Linked DNA regions of Homo sapiens: regions 2, 3 and 4 are each linked to region 1. Evidence: promoter capture Hi-C in 16 types of primary human blood cells and fetal thymus (Javierre and others, 2016). All regions are on one chromosome and are shown on one strand. Each heading gives the region's core, a stretch centred on a gene start or on the middle of the fragment in contact. The rest is flanking DNA. Distances are from core to core; before and after follow the strand shown. Region 1 holds the start of GUCY2C (guanylate cyclase 2C). Region 2 has its middle 140 kb from the start of ATF7IP. Region 3 has its middle 110 kb from the start of ATF7IP. Region 4 holds the start of LINC01489 (long intergenic non-protein coding RNA 1489).

Region 1 (3,357 bases), core at 490-2,989:
GGTAATCTAATCTCAGGGAATGCAGAAAATGAAAATGTTCATTGAAGTATTATGAAAATAGTAATGAGAAATTTAAAACAAATGAAATATCCTACATCAGAGAATTATTTTATATATATCTTATCATATATATCCCCCAAATTAGGTAATTTATATCCAGTGGATATAATACATACTGGATATTATAATATCTGGCGGATATTATATATCAATTCACATGATGACTAGAAAGGCCATGACGCTCTAGGAAAGTCACTTGTGCAATAATGTGAAGTGAACCAGAAGGATCCAAAACTGTTTCTATGCCATAGTGATCACCAACCACGTTCTTAAAAACAGGAAGCTAAGAAGCACATGAAAACAGACTGGAAACATCCAGGTGGCTGGGAATCATGGCTGCTTTTTTTCCCCCTTTATTTTACACATTTCATGTAATGTTATAAAATTTATTTTTATAACTAAAAGGTACAATGAAGAACTGCAACAATGAATTTGATTGCAAATGTTTTATATTAACTATGTCTAGTAATCACAGCCACAGGAAATGTAAAGAGTGAACAGACCACCCCCTCTCTACTAAAAATACAAAAAATTAGCCAGGCATGGTGGTGGGCACCTGTAGTCCCAGCTACTCGGGGGGCTGAGGCAGGAGAATGGCGTGAACCTGGGAGGCAGAGCTTGCAGTGAGCCGAGATCGTGCCACTGCACTCCAGCCTGGGTGACAGAGTGAGACTCCATCTCAAAAAAAAAAAAAAAAAAAAGAGTGAACAGGCCAGAGACAAATGTCTTTCTCTGGATAAAAGGCCCAGAGAAAGATTTGGTGTCTATGTGAAATTGACTGTCTTAATTCATCTTCTTGATTAGTATCCCTGTGAAATCTTAGGTCTAGACCAAATCTTACCTCTGAGTACAGAAGGAAACATAATGCCTTCCTGGAACCGGGCAATAAACTGAGTTTATTTTTATTTATTTTCTTTTTGAAGAGATGGAGTCTTGCTATGTTGCCCAGGCTGGTCTTGAACTCCCGGGCTCAGTGTCCCTCCTTCCTTGGCCTCCTAAATTGCTGAGATTACAGACGTGAGCCACCACATCTGGCCTAAACCCAGTTTTAACTGGGACGTTTCACTGCCGTGAACACTTTACATTTCCTGAGTCAGGGCTAGTCCCAGAGCAAGGTGAAGTGTGAGTGAGCACAGCATAATAGGGTTCAAATTCTTCTCTCTAAGGAGCTACTGTCATGAAATAGAAAGGGGTTTAGGGACAGTCCTTAGAGAAAGTTGTGTGATCAAAGAACACAAGGTCTTTGCTTAGCAACATTTTGTCCCCAGAGGTAGTAACAGAGTGGAGGAAGATTCTATTAACATTTTCTTACCAGCATTTTGCAGACGTCCTCTCACTATTTCCAGCCCCTCATTCACCGCATCTTCCAAGTTTTTCAGGGGCTCTGCAAAGGCTGAGTTGCCCATCATCAGGACGCTGATTTCATAGCTGCCATTGTGGCAGTTCTGACTCACCTGGGAACTAAAGGACAGCCACCCGGGCTGGAAGAGCAGTGACCACAAAGCCAAGTCCAACAGCAACGTCTTCATGACCCCAATCACGTTAGAACCATACTCCTTGTGCCCACTTGCTTTGCTCTGTTGGGCTCCTAGGGAGGCAGGGAATCCAGATGGACAGCCTCTAGTGGAGTCCCTCAGCCCACTCTTCCCCACGCTTCTCTCTGGTCATGCCCAACTGGTCACATGGGCCGTGGAACACAGCCTGCTTGCCAGTAATTAGCAGCTACGTTATGGCAGGAGATAAACCAAAGTTCACTTTGTGTTTGCACCCAGAAAGGTCAGAGCTATAAACAGAGAGATTAGCTGGGCCTCACCCAATAAAAATGCAATAATTTGTGATGCATCACTGGGAAGAGGGAAAAGAGAAAGAGGGCAATACATCATATATGTAACAAACTTTGTGAAGTGGAAAATAAAGGTCAAAGGGCTTTAGGAAAACACAGCTACAATTGACTATTAGTGCTTAAGTTTTAGCTGCACATTGAAACGAAATCCTTAACTTTATATATATATATAAAGTATATATATATATATATATAAAGTGTATATATATATATATATATATATATATAAAGTGTATATATATATATATATATATATATATATAAAGTGTATATATATATATATATATATATATATATATAAAGTGTATATATATATATACTTTAAGTTCTGGGATACATGTGCAGAACGTGCAGGTTTGTTACGTAGGTATGCACATGCCATGGTGGTTTGCTGCACCCATCAACCCGCCATCTACGTTAGGCATTTCTCCTAATGCTATCCCTCCCCTAGCCCCCCACCCCCCAACAGGCCCTGGTGTATGATTTTCCCCTCCCTGTGTCCATGTGTTCTCATTGTTCAACTCCCACTTACAAGTGAGAACATGCGGTATTTGGTTTTCTGTTCTTGTGTTAGTTTGCTGAGAATGATGGTTTCCAGCTTCATCCATGTCCCTGCAAAGGACATGCACTCATCCTTTTTATGGCTGCATAGTATTCTATGGTGTATATGTGCCACATTTTCTTTATCCAGTCTATTATTGATGGGCATTTGGGTTGGTTCCAAGTCTTTACTATTGTGAACAGTGCTGCAATAAACATATGTGTGCATGTGTCTTTATAGTAGAGTGATTTATAATCCTTTGGGTATATACCCAGTGATAGGATTGCTGGGTCAAATGGTATTTCTGGTTTTAGATCCTTGAGGAATTGCCACACTGTCTTTCACAATAGTTGGACTAATTTACACTCCCACCAACAGGGTAGAAGCGTTTCTATTTCTCCACATCCTCTCCAGCATCTGTTGTTTCCTGACTTTTTTAATGATTGCCATTCTAACTGGCATGAGATGGTATCTCATTGTGATTTTGATTTGCGTTTCTCTAATGACCAGTGATGATGAGCTTTTTTTCATGTTTCTTGGCTGCGTAAATGTCTTCTTTTGAGAATTGTCTGTTCATATCCTTTGCCCACTTCTTGATGGGGTTATTTGTTTTCTTCTTGTAAATTTGATTAAGTTCTTTGTAGATTCTGAATATTAGCCCTTTGCCAGATGGATAGATTGCAAAAGTTTTCTCCCATTCTGTAGGTTAAGCAGCAACTACTTATTAAGATTTGACTATGTGTTGAGCATTGGCAAGGCACTGAAGATATAGCCATGAACAACATAGATACATTAATGTCCTCATGGAACATGCATTCTAATGGGAGAAGGCAAACATTAAATAATTATGTTTATTTTCTATTTTTATTTTTTAATTTTAATATTTTTTTAATTTTTATTTAATTTTTTTTTT
Region 2 (3,357 bases), core at 509-3,008, 470 kb before region 1:
TTATCTTTGGACCCTGCATTTTTAACCTCCTTGTAAAATTTGCCTCTTCCAGAATAGAATCCATGAAGCTGCAAATGGTTCTACAAATGGAGCCCCAAGTGACCACCACTAGCACCTACTATCAAGCACCCCTAGACCCACCCACCAACCTGTTCTCACACCACGACACCAAAGACTCCCCTCCTGAGGAAACCTCAACTGCAGTGCCCCTTCTACCCCCCAGTTCAGCAGGAAGTAGCTAGAACAATCGTCATCCAACTTCCCAACAGCACTTGGGCTTTCCTGTTGAAAGGGGGGACTGAGGGACTAAGTGGCTAAATTGGCTGGACTTCCTGGGTCAATAGGGACTTCCCTAAAGTGACTTTCCCCTAAGCCAAAATGAGTCATAGCTGCAAGCTAAGAGATTAAAACTTCAACCAATCAAAGGGGATTTTCCCCTAAGCCAAAATTAGTCATAGCTGCAAGCTAAAGGGATTGAAACTTCAACCAATCAAAGGGGACTTTCCCCTAAGCCAAAATGAGTCACAGCTACAAACTAAGGGATTGAAACTTCAACCAATCATATAGGGAGTTCAAGCTCTAGCTGCAGCCTGATGTTTTTAACCAATCAGGTCTGCCAACCCACAAGTGGATAGAAAATTAGCCAATCCTATAGGACAGAAAAAGAAAAGGGGAGGAGTCATAAGGGGATATAAGCATAAGACACCCAAGCCAAAAAACACAATCCTTCTGGGTCCCCTTCCACCACATGGAAGCTTTACTTTTGCGTTCCCTTTACTTTCCCTTTCGCTTTACTAAATCTTGCTGCCATAAAAAAAAAAAAAGAATCCCAGCCTGGTACAGTGACTCACACCAAGGAAGGCAGATCGATTGAGACAAGGAGTTCAAGACCAGTGTGGGCAACATGGCAAAACCCCATCTCTACAAAAAATACAAAAAAAAAAAAAATAGCTGGGAGTGGTGGTAGGTGCCTGTAGTCCTAGCTACTCAGGAGGCTGAGGTGGGAGGATCACTTGAGCCCAGGAGGTTGCAGTGAGCCGGGTTCATTCCACTGCATTCCAGCCTGGGCAACACAGCCATATCTTGGCTCAAAAAAAAAAAAAAAAAAAAAAACAAAAAAAAACAGAAGGCTATAATCTCAAGCACTTTGGGAGGCCAAGGCAGGCAATCACAAGGTCAGGAGATCAAGACCATCCTGGCTAACATGGTGAAACCCCGTCTCTGCTAAAAATACAAAAAGTTAGCTGGGCGTGGTGGCGGGCGTCTGTAGTCCCAGCTACTCGGAAGGCTGAGGCAGGAGAATGGCATGAACCCGGGAGGCGGAGCTTTCAGCCAGCCGAGATTGCACTACTGCACTCCTGCCTGGGTGACAGAGCAAGACTCCGTCAAAAAAAATAAAAGAAAAGAAAAAAGAAAAAAGGGCAGGGCGTGGTGGTTCACGCCTGTAATCCCAGCACTTTGGAAGGCCGAGGTGGGCAGATCACTTGAGGTCAGGAGTTCAAGACCAGCCTGGCCAACATGGTGAAACCCCATCTCTACTAAAAATACAAAAAAATTAGCTGGGCACAGTGGCAGGCCCCTGTAATCCCAGCTACTCAGGAGGCTGAGGCAGCAGAATCGCTTGAACCCAGGAGGCCAAGGTTGAAGTGAGCCAAGATTGCGCCGCTGCACTTCAGCCTGGGCAACAGAGCGAGACTCTGTCTCAAGAAAGAAAAGAAAAAAAAATCCCAGATGAATTTTCTTTTTTTTTTTTTTTTTTTTTGAGACAGTATCCCTGCCTCCCAGGCTGGAGTGCAGTGGCGCAATCTCAGCTCACTGCAAGCTCCGCCTTCCAGGTTCATGCCATTCTCCTGCCTCAGCCTCCCGAGTAGCTGGGATTACAGGTGCCCGCCACCATGTCCAGCTAATTTTTTGTATTTTTAGTAGAGATGGGGTTTAAACGTGTTAGCTAGTGTGGTCTCGATCTCCTGACCTCGTGATCCACTCGCCTTGGCCTCCCAAAGTGCTGGGATTACAGGCGTGAGCCACCACGCCTGACCCTAGCTTAATTTTCTTAAAAGGAAGCTGAATTGGCAGAGTTGTCCCACAGTGGACTAAAACAGCCAGGCCTTTATACCTCCACCTTGATCACTGGATGTAGGCTGTCCTGGTAAGGGTGCCCCACCTTAGTCACACAGGAAGCTGATGCAGTCCCTGAAGACACTGCTAGCTGAAGGCTTTCCCCTCGTAGCACTCCCAGTAGTTGGGAAAACAATTCCTTCACTGAAGTAGGGTCTGGACACCATACTTGGTATGTCTTCACAAAATATTTTTGTTTTTTTGTTTTTTTGAGACAGAGTCGCTCTGTCGCCCAAGCTGGAGTGCAGTGGCGTGATCTCGGCTCACTGCAAGCTCCGCCTCCCAGGTTCACGCCATTCTCCTGCCTCAGCCTCCCTACTAGCTGGGACTATAGGTGCCCGCCACCACGTCTGGCTAATTTTTTTTTATTTTTAGTAGAGACGGGGTTTCACCGTGTTAGCCAGGATAGTCTCAATCTCCTGACCTCATGATACACTCGCCTCGGCCTCCCAAAGTGCTGGGATTACAGGCGTGAGCCACCACGCCCAGCCCTTCCTCTATCTTAATAACACAGTGGTTAAACGCAACAGTACTGAATTGTCTAGTTAGTTTAATGTTATGTATTTCATACACTATTAACACTAGTATGGGAAGCATTTATAAAAATCATGTACCATTAATTAATTTTCTTTCACTTAAAAGTTAAAGCTTTGAGGATTCTGTTTGAAAATATATGTAAAATGATAAAGACCAAATGTGTGTTAATTCAAATATTTAATTAAAGAATAAAATAAGAATAATGAGCTATTTGAAATTGTTGTGAAATTGGTGTAGTGACTTTTGATTCAAACATTTAAATCTGCTGAGGTTAGTTTTGGTACAACTATTCTCAGGATTACATTTATAGACCCTCATCTAGTTAAATTTAGTTTTCTGACTTTAACAGTGATTCAGGCCAGAGACAGTGGCTCACTTCTATAATCCCAGCACTTTGGGAGGCTGAGGCAGGAGAATCACTTGAGACCAGGAGTTTGAGACAAGTCTGGGCAACATAGACCTCATATCTACAAAAAGTTGGGTTTTGTTTTGTTTTTTGAGACAGGGTTTCCACTCTGCCTGCCCAGGCTGGAGTGCAGTGGTACAGTCTCAACTCACTGCAACCTCCGCCTCCTGGGCTCAAGCAATCCTGCCGCCTCAGCCCCCCAAGTAGCTGGGATTACAGGCACGAGCCACCATTTCTGGCTAATTTTTGGATTTTTTGTAGAGATGGGGTTTCACCATGTTGCCCAGGATGATCTC
Region 3 (3,357 bases), core at 352-2,851, 440 kb before region 1:
GCAACAGACAGAGATCCTAACTATAAAAAATAAAAATAAAATGGGAACAATTGTACCTTCTCCAAAGGGTGGCTATGAGGAAAACAGTTTATATATACAATGTGGTTTATACATACTATATATACATATATATCATAACAGTAAACTGGCACAAAGTATTGCTATGTAATTGCTCTTATAATGATTATTACAACTTTATAGAGATATTTTTATAGATGAAAAAACAAAATAGATGAGGAAACCACGGCTTCAGAGCTTTGAGTTTTTCTGACCTCAATATTCGGTCTCTCAACTATTGATTACCCTGAACCAGTTAAAAGAAGTGAAAGTCAGCCGGGCGTGGTGGCTCACGCCTGTAATCCCAGCACTTTGGGAGGCTGAGGTGGGCAGATCACCTGAGGTTAGGAGTTCGAGACTAGCCTGGCCAACATGGAGAAACTGTCTCTACTAAAAACACAAATTAGCCGGGTGTGGTGACGCATGCCTGTAATCCCAGCTACTCGGGAGGCTGAGGCAGGAGAATCTCTTGAACGCCAGAGGCGGAGGTTGTGGTGAGCTGAGATCGTGCCATTGCACTCCAGCCTGGGCAACAGGAGCGAAACTCCATCCCAAAAAAAAAAAAAAAAAAAAAAAGAAGTGAAAGTCACAGAATTTTGTAGTCAGTTAGGGAAATCCTACCAGTTTCACAACGAGTCAATCAAAACCTTGCAATAAATACACAATAAAGCTGTGCTTCAAATGTCCTCCAACACCTAGCACAGCTTTTAGAACAGCTAATTTGCTTAGGTGAAGAAATGCTCCAGGCAGGGCACAGTGGCTCATGCCTGTGATCCCACCTCACTGGGAGGCAGAGGTAGGAGTCACTTGAAGCCAGGAGTTTGAGGGCAGCCAGAGCAACACAGAGAGACCCTGTCTCTGTGAAAAAATAAAAAAATAAATAGGCCAGGCATGGTGGCTCATGCCTGTAATCCCAGCACTTTGGGAGGCCCAGGCGGGTGGATCATTTGAGGTCAGGAGTTCAAGACCAGCCTGGTCAACATGGCGAAAGCCCATCTCTACTAAACATACAAAAATTAGCCAGGCTTGGTGGTAGGCACCTGTAATCCCAGCTACTAGGGAGTCTGAGGCAGGAGAATCGCTTGAACCAGGGAGGTGGAGGTTACAGTGACCAGAGATTGCACCACTGCACTCCAGCCTGGGCAACAAAGTGAGACTCTGTCTCAAAAAAAAAAAGAAAAATAGAAAAAAATAACCAAGTGTGATGGTGCATGCCTATAGTCCCAGCTACTCTGGAGGCTGAGGTGAGAGGATCACTTGAGCCCAGAAGTCAAGGCTGCAGGGAGCCAGGATCAGGCCACTGCACTCTAGCTAGCATCAGTGACAGAGTGAGACCCTGTCTCAAAAAAAAAAAAAGCCCCAAAGACATTACTCTTGTGTTGGGCTGAAATCCAGTGAATTGGTGGCCCCTCTCTCTCTCTCTCATCTGAAGGTTTTCAGAGATGCAAATTGCCTACTTGAAATTCTGTGGCATTAGACTTCTGCTTGGATGAGTCCCTGGCCAGGAGTAGAATCTTTTTTTTTTTTTTTGAGACTGAGTCTTGCTCTGTCACCCAGGCTGGACTGCAGTGGCACGATCCCAGCTTAGTGCAACCTCTGCCTGCCGGGTTCAAGCGATTCTCCTGTATCCCCTCCCTAGTAGCTCAGATTACAGGCACCCACCACCATGCCCAGCTAATTTTTATATTTTTAGTAGAGACGGGGTTTTGCCATGTTGGCCAGGCTGGTCTCAAACTCCTGACCTCAAGCGATCCACCCACCTCAGCCTCCCAAAGTGCTGGGATTACAGGCGTGAGCCACCTCGCCCAGCTAGGATCCATTTTTTTTTTTTTTTTTTTTTTGGGACAGAGTCTCGCTCTGTCACCCAGGCTGGAGTGTGGAGTGCAGTGGCGCGATCTCGGCTCACCGCAACCTCCACCTCTTGGGTTCAAGCAATTCTCCTGCGTCAGCCTCCTAGTAGCTGGGACTACAGGTGCATGCCACCACACCCAGCTAAGTTTTTGTATTTTTAGTAGAGGTGAGGTTTCACTGTGTTAGCCAGGATGGTCTCAATCTCCTGACCTCATGATCGGCCCACCTTGGCCTCTCAAAGTGCTGGGATTACAGGCGTGAGCCACCATGCCCGTTGTGTGTGTGTGTGTGTGTGTGTGTGTGACACGAAGTTTCAATCTTGTTGCCCAGGCTGGAGTGCAATGGCATGATCTCAGCTCACTGCAACCTCTACCTCCCGGGTTCAAGCAATTCTCCTGTCTCAGCCTCCCGAGTAGCTGAGATTACAGGCGCCCGTCACCACCCCTGGCTAATTTTTGTATTTTTAGTAGAGATGAGGGTTTCTCCATGTTGGCCAGGCTGGTCTCGAACTCCTGACCTTCGGGTGATCCACCCACCTCGGCCTCCCAAAGTGCTGGAATTACAGGCATGATCCACCAGGCCTGGCCGCCAGGATACTCTTTTAAAGGAGGAATTGGTAAATCCTTTCCCTCTGGTGATAGGGACAGTTTTGATAAAGATGGAAGGGGGAAAACCATGTGCATGACTCCAGACTCAGAAACCAAAACCCAAGTTGAATTCCATCTCAGAGTAAAATCAAGTACTACAGATGAGAAAACACAGACGGTAAGAATTATAAGACTAGTGTGTCTTTTCTTAGGGGATAAAAGCTGTTTGACAGCATCTGCAACAAGTGGTTCACAAACACGTCCATCATCTACTTCCTCAACAAGAAGGAGCTGTTGGAGGAGAAGATCACACACAGCCCCTGACCATCTGCTTCCCTGAGTACACAGGGTCCAACAAGTATGATGAGGCAGCCAGCTACAACCAGAGTAAGTCTGAGGACCTGAATAAGCACAAAGACACCAAGGAGATCTACACACACTTCACATGCGCCACCGATACCAAGAACGTAGTTCGTGTTTGATGCCATCACCGACGTCATCATCAAGAACAACCTGAAGGACTGGGGCCTCTTCTGAGGGGCAGTGGGACCTAGCAGGATGGGCCACCACCAACTCTGTACCCCCCAACCCCTGAGGAAGATGGGGCAAGAAGACCATGGTCCCCACCTGTTCCCTGGACACTTTTCTCTTCTTTCCTTTGTTCTTAGCTCCCCCATCCCCTCAGCTTCAGACATAGGGGAGGGGTTGCCACAGGCCTCCCTGTTTGAAGCCTGCCCTTGTCTGAGGTGCCAGTAATGGCCATGGTACCCCCTTTCTGGGCATCTTTCTGGTACCCCCCAGAAGCTGTGAAGATTCTATTCTACTCAGTAGCTCTCATTATGTAAAGAGGAACCCTGAAATA
Region 4 (3,357 bases), core at 359-2,858, 310 kb after region 1:
GCAGCTGCTGCATGGCATTTAAATGAAGGATTAGTAAATGCATGCTACAGCCTCAGTTATTTTTCTAACATAGGTCACCACAAGAAATATGTACACAACAGGTTTGATTTATATCCTCAATATTTCAGTAGTTATGGTGCCTTGAAGAAGCAAAACAAATTGGAGTCAAGACATTTGTAATATTTATTTTGCCTAAAGTAAAAAATATGACAGAATTAGAATAACCATCATTTGAAATTATTTCATTCAGGCAACCAACTATACGCTAAGATACAAGTAGGTGATTTTCCCCTGAAGTTTGAAAAGAAGGACCAGTCTCTGAAACATGTCCTCTGGTTTTCTACTTCTCCCAAATATCTTCTCTTGCAAAGTTCATCATTAAAGCTCTTTGAGGATTATTTCAGACCCCTACATGCTATGTCTGGGACACAAGAACAGTCTTAAAGAGAATGTCCTGAAGCTCATCCACCTCAGTGTGCAGGGCTGGAGCTCATGTATATGTACTTTGGCTCTCACCAGAAGTGGTGAATCTTAGGGTTCTGGGTCTTATTGTTTTAAGAGATATGATGTGAGCCAGGCTGCTTAGTATGAACCACCGACAGATGAAATGATGGCTTATGAAAGAAAGTTAATGTAAAATATTAGCCCATGTGAGCTAGCATAATCAGTTGTTTTTATTAAAATGTTATGTGTTTGTTGCATTAGGAAAAGGAAGTGGATTGGATACCCCTTTGTTCCCACATATCTTCAGTCTTTTTACACTTAGCACTACCGGCTATTTTTAGCATGCTTGTTGTCTGCCTATCCTGTTACAACATCACCTCCACAAGGACAGGGAATTTGCCTGTGTTGTTCACTGTTATACCCACTCCACTTCCTAGGAAATGCCTAGAAATAGAAGGAACTCAGTAAATACTTCCTGGGTGAGTAAATACATGAGAAAATTATTTGTGTGCATGGATAGTTGCAAAGATCACTATGGCATAAGCAGAGGCTTCCCCACTCGGGTTACAGCAGTGCGGTTCTTTGTTTGCAAACTGCAGTTACCAGCTGAAGCATCTGCTGTGATTTTTTTTTTTAATCTACTTCAGTTTACTTGAAGGGTTTCCTAAGAAGACAGTGTGCTGGTTTATGAAGCTATTGTCTCTCTACTTCAAACCCACCTTTCCTTACTCAGCTTTATGGCACTGGGGCTGGGATGATAGGAAATAGAGTTTTGGCTGCCTGTGAGGCTTCTCTGAGAGGGAGGCACTGGATGCTTGCTGGAAGGCTAGAAAGGGAGGGAGGGAAGGAGAAGTCCCTGTTCCTGGCAGCGGCATCCGCCAGCAACAACCGCCCTCTCTTGGCAGCAGCAATTGGTCTGGTTCTAGTCTCCACCTTCTTTCTACACTTTTTCTGCAAAGTTACCCATAGCAGCCAGGCAGTGCCCTCTCCTCAGAGATCTGGTCCGAGTCTGACAATGGCTCTGCCGGGCATCTTCTCTGATTAGGGCAGCTTTCAGACAGCTGATTGCTCATTAGGAACACCTGGGACGGAACCGCAATTTCTTCCCTTTATTCTACCTTCTCTATTTAGCTTAGCCAATTCCTTATAACTGATTATAATTAATTTATAATACATTCCATCTGTTATAATATGCTTTCTAGTTTCCTGACCCGGACTCTGATGGATCATGTTCTTTATCCTACAGCTATGTGTGTTTCTGCAAATTCTATATTTCAAAGCTCTTAACAATTCACAAACTTGCAGGACTTCTTTTAATTTAATTTAAAATGATAGTGGGGTTTCTTTTAATTTAAAAATGTTTTTCTGTTGGTGGGTATTTAAACACATAAAACAAATAGAGATTTACACAAAATACAAATGCTCCAGTCTTACTTATCAATTTTTAACACATTTCCATCGGATTAATGTTCTCTTACTTTCAAACTCCCTCTTTTTAAAAATGCAGAACAGAAACCCCAATCGTTCATGAATTCTCAGAGCATCCCTTTCTGTGATAATAGAGTGGAGAAAAACTTCCTGTGGGTCTGCAATCCTATCCCCGCACAGGTAAAATACTTCTTTGTTTTTTCATGTGGAATATTTTGAGCAGTTTTCAGGATGTTCCAATCTCGACAGCCCACTCGCTTGTCCCTGTGGCGTCTGAGGGGATGCTGACACATGGAGTTTGAGAACCACACTTTAAGAAGTTGTTCTTTCCTGTGGGGCAGAATTAGGGCAGCTTTCCGACAGCTGATTGTTCATTAAGAACACCTGGGGTGGGACCAGAAGGAGGACAGAAAGTGCCATCTGAGATTGCAGAAATTCTCTTTAATTTCACAATTATGCCCATAGCAGGCTTTCTGTGGCAGAGTTGTTGACCTAAGGTTCAGAAGACAATCTGACTTGGCTAATGACAGCATTTTCTCATGATCTGCAAAACATGAAGAAATGATGCAGTGGGAAGGTTGAAGCCATCGGTATAGTGAGTTGCTTGACCTGCAGAGAAGTCATAAGTTCATTTATCTTCCTCTCAGCAATGACTTAAACTCCTGTCTATTGAGTGCCTCCGAGGCGCAAGACAGGATGCTAGGCACTTGATTCTTCACACACTTGTGGAGTAGGTATTATAATAAGAGCACTGATCACCAGTCTTGAGCTCATAATTAAATGCCCCACAACTAGAATGTGGTCGAGCTAGTCCTTAGTTAAATCTAGGGGTAAAGTCTGGTTGTTTTGACTTTTTTACCCTCCTTCCACCATAAAGCATAACATATTCTCACATGGAAACCTGCAGGGCAATTCCCCTGCTTTACATTAATGAGGGACAAATACGATTTGTGTCTTTTACTGTGTCTAATCTCCCACGGTTCTCACAGCTTCTTTTAAATTTATATGACTTTTCCATTTTCATAAAAAGATAGGATGCCGTTTCTTATCTTTTTGGATCAATGTTATGGTATCAGTATTGATTCTTAAAGAAGTCCTTTAGAGGTTCAGCTCTGAAGCTATTGATCATTCAAAAGTTCCTCCTTTATTTAATTTTCATGTCACTTCAGTCTTTGAAACTTTAGGTTTCACATTTCCTCTGTATGTAGCTTTCCAGTGGAAGACAGGGCTTTCTTTACTGTATTTCTAAAATTATGTAATTTGGGGGTACTTTATTTGGCAAACATGGATAGAATATTTATATGTTTGTGAACAATGTGCAATTCTTATCACAGTGTTACCTAAAATAGCTAACATAAAGAGTCTAATTTATAAATAAGAGAAATTGAAGCTTAGGGAGTTAACTGTTCAATGTAATTAAGTAGACTAACGGGTAGTAGAGCCGTGCCTCCAATCAAAGTCTATTCAAGGCCCAAAGCCTGTCCC

Evidence for each region. Contacts are between HindIII fragments. The CHiCAGO score rates a contact against its expected background, and 5 or more counts as called.
Region 2: a fragment that was not itself captured here is called in contact with the fragment with the promoter of GUCY2C in region 1 in 6 of 17 cell types (M0 macrophages, total B cells, neutrophils and 3 more); the score reaches 6.8 in M0 macrophages.
Region 3: a contact is called between a fragment that was not itself captured here and the fragment with the promoter of GUCY2C in region 1, in 1 of 17 cell types (monocytes). The highest score is 5.2, in monocytes.
Region 4: a contact is called between a fragment that was not itself captured here and the fragment with the promoter of GUCY2C in region 1, in 1 of 17 cell types (neutrophils). The highest score is 7.1, in neutrophils.

The regions. Positions count from the first base shown.
Region 1 is chr12:14,694,860-14,698,216 of GRCh38, forward strand. GUCY2C (guanylate cyclase 2C) reads right to left here and starts at 1,740. Exons shown (of 27, transcript NM_004963.4): 1 at 1,373-1,740. The coding sequence starts at 1,589. The region is part of intron 4 of GUCY2C-AS1 (GUCY2C antisense RNA 1); the gene reads left to right. The HindIII fragment of the contact is 11,701 bases long and covers 1-3,357 here.
Region 2 is chr12:14,220,810-14,224,166 of GRCh38, forward strand. No RefSeq gene overlaps it. Among named protein-coding and RNA genes, the nearest start is that of ATF7IP, 140 kb to the right of the region's middle. RefSeq lists enhancers at 1-417, 259-558. The HindIII fragment of the contact is 2,011 bases long and covers 754-2,764 here.
Region 3 is chr12:14,252,200-14,255,556 of GRCh38, forward strand. It overlaps the pseudogene GNAI2P1. Among named protein-coding and RNA genes, the nearest start is that of ATF7IP, 110 kb to the right of the region's middle. The HindIII fragment of the contact is 4,306 bases long and covers 1-3,357 here.
Region 4 is chr12:15,000,984-15,004,340 of GRCh38, forward strand. It overlaps LINC01489 (long intergenic non-protein coding RNA 1489), which reads left to right and starts at 850. Exons shown (of 4, transcript NR_120466.1): 1 at 850-923; 2 at 1,952-2,052. The HindIII fragment of the contact is 3,304 bases long and covers 1-3,260 here.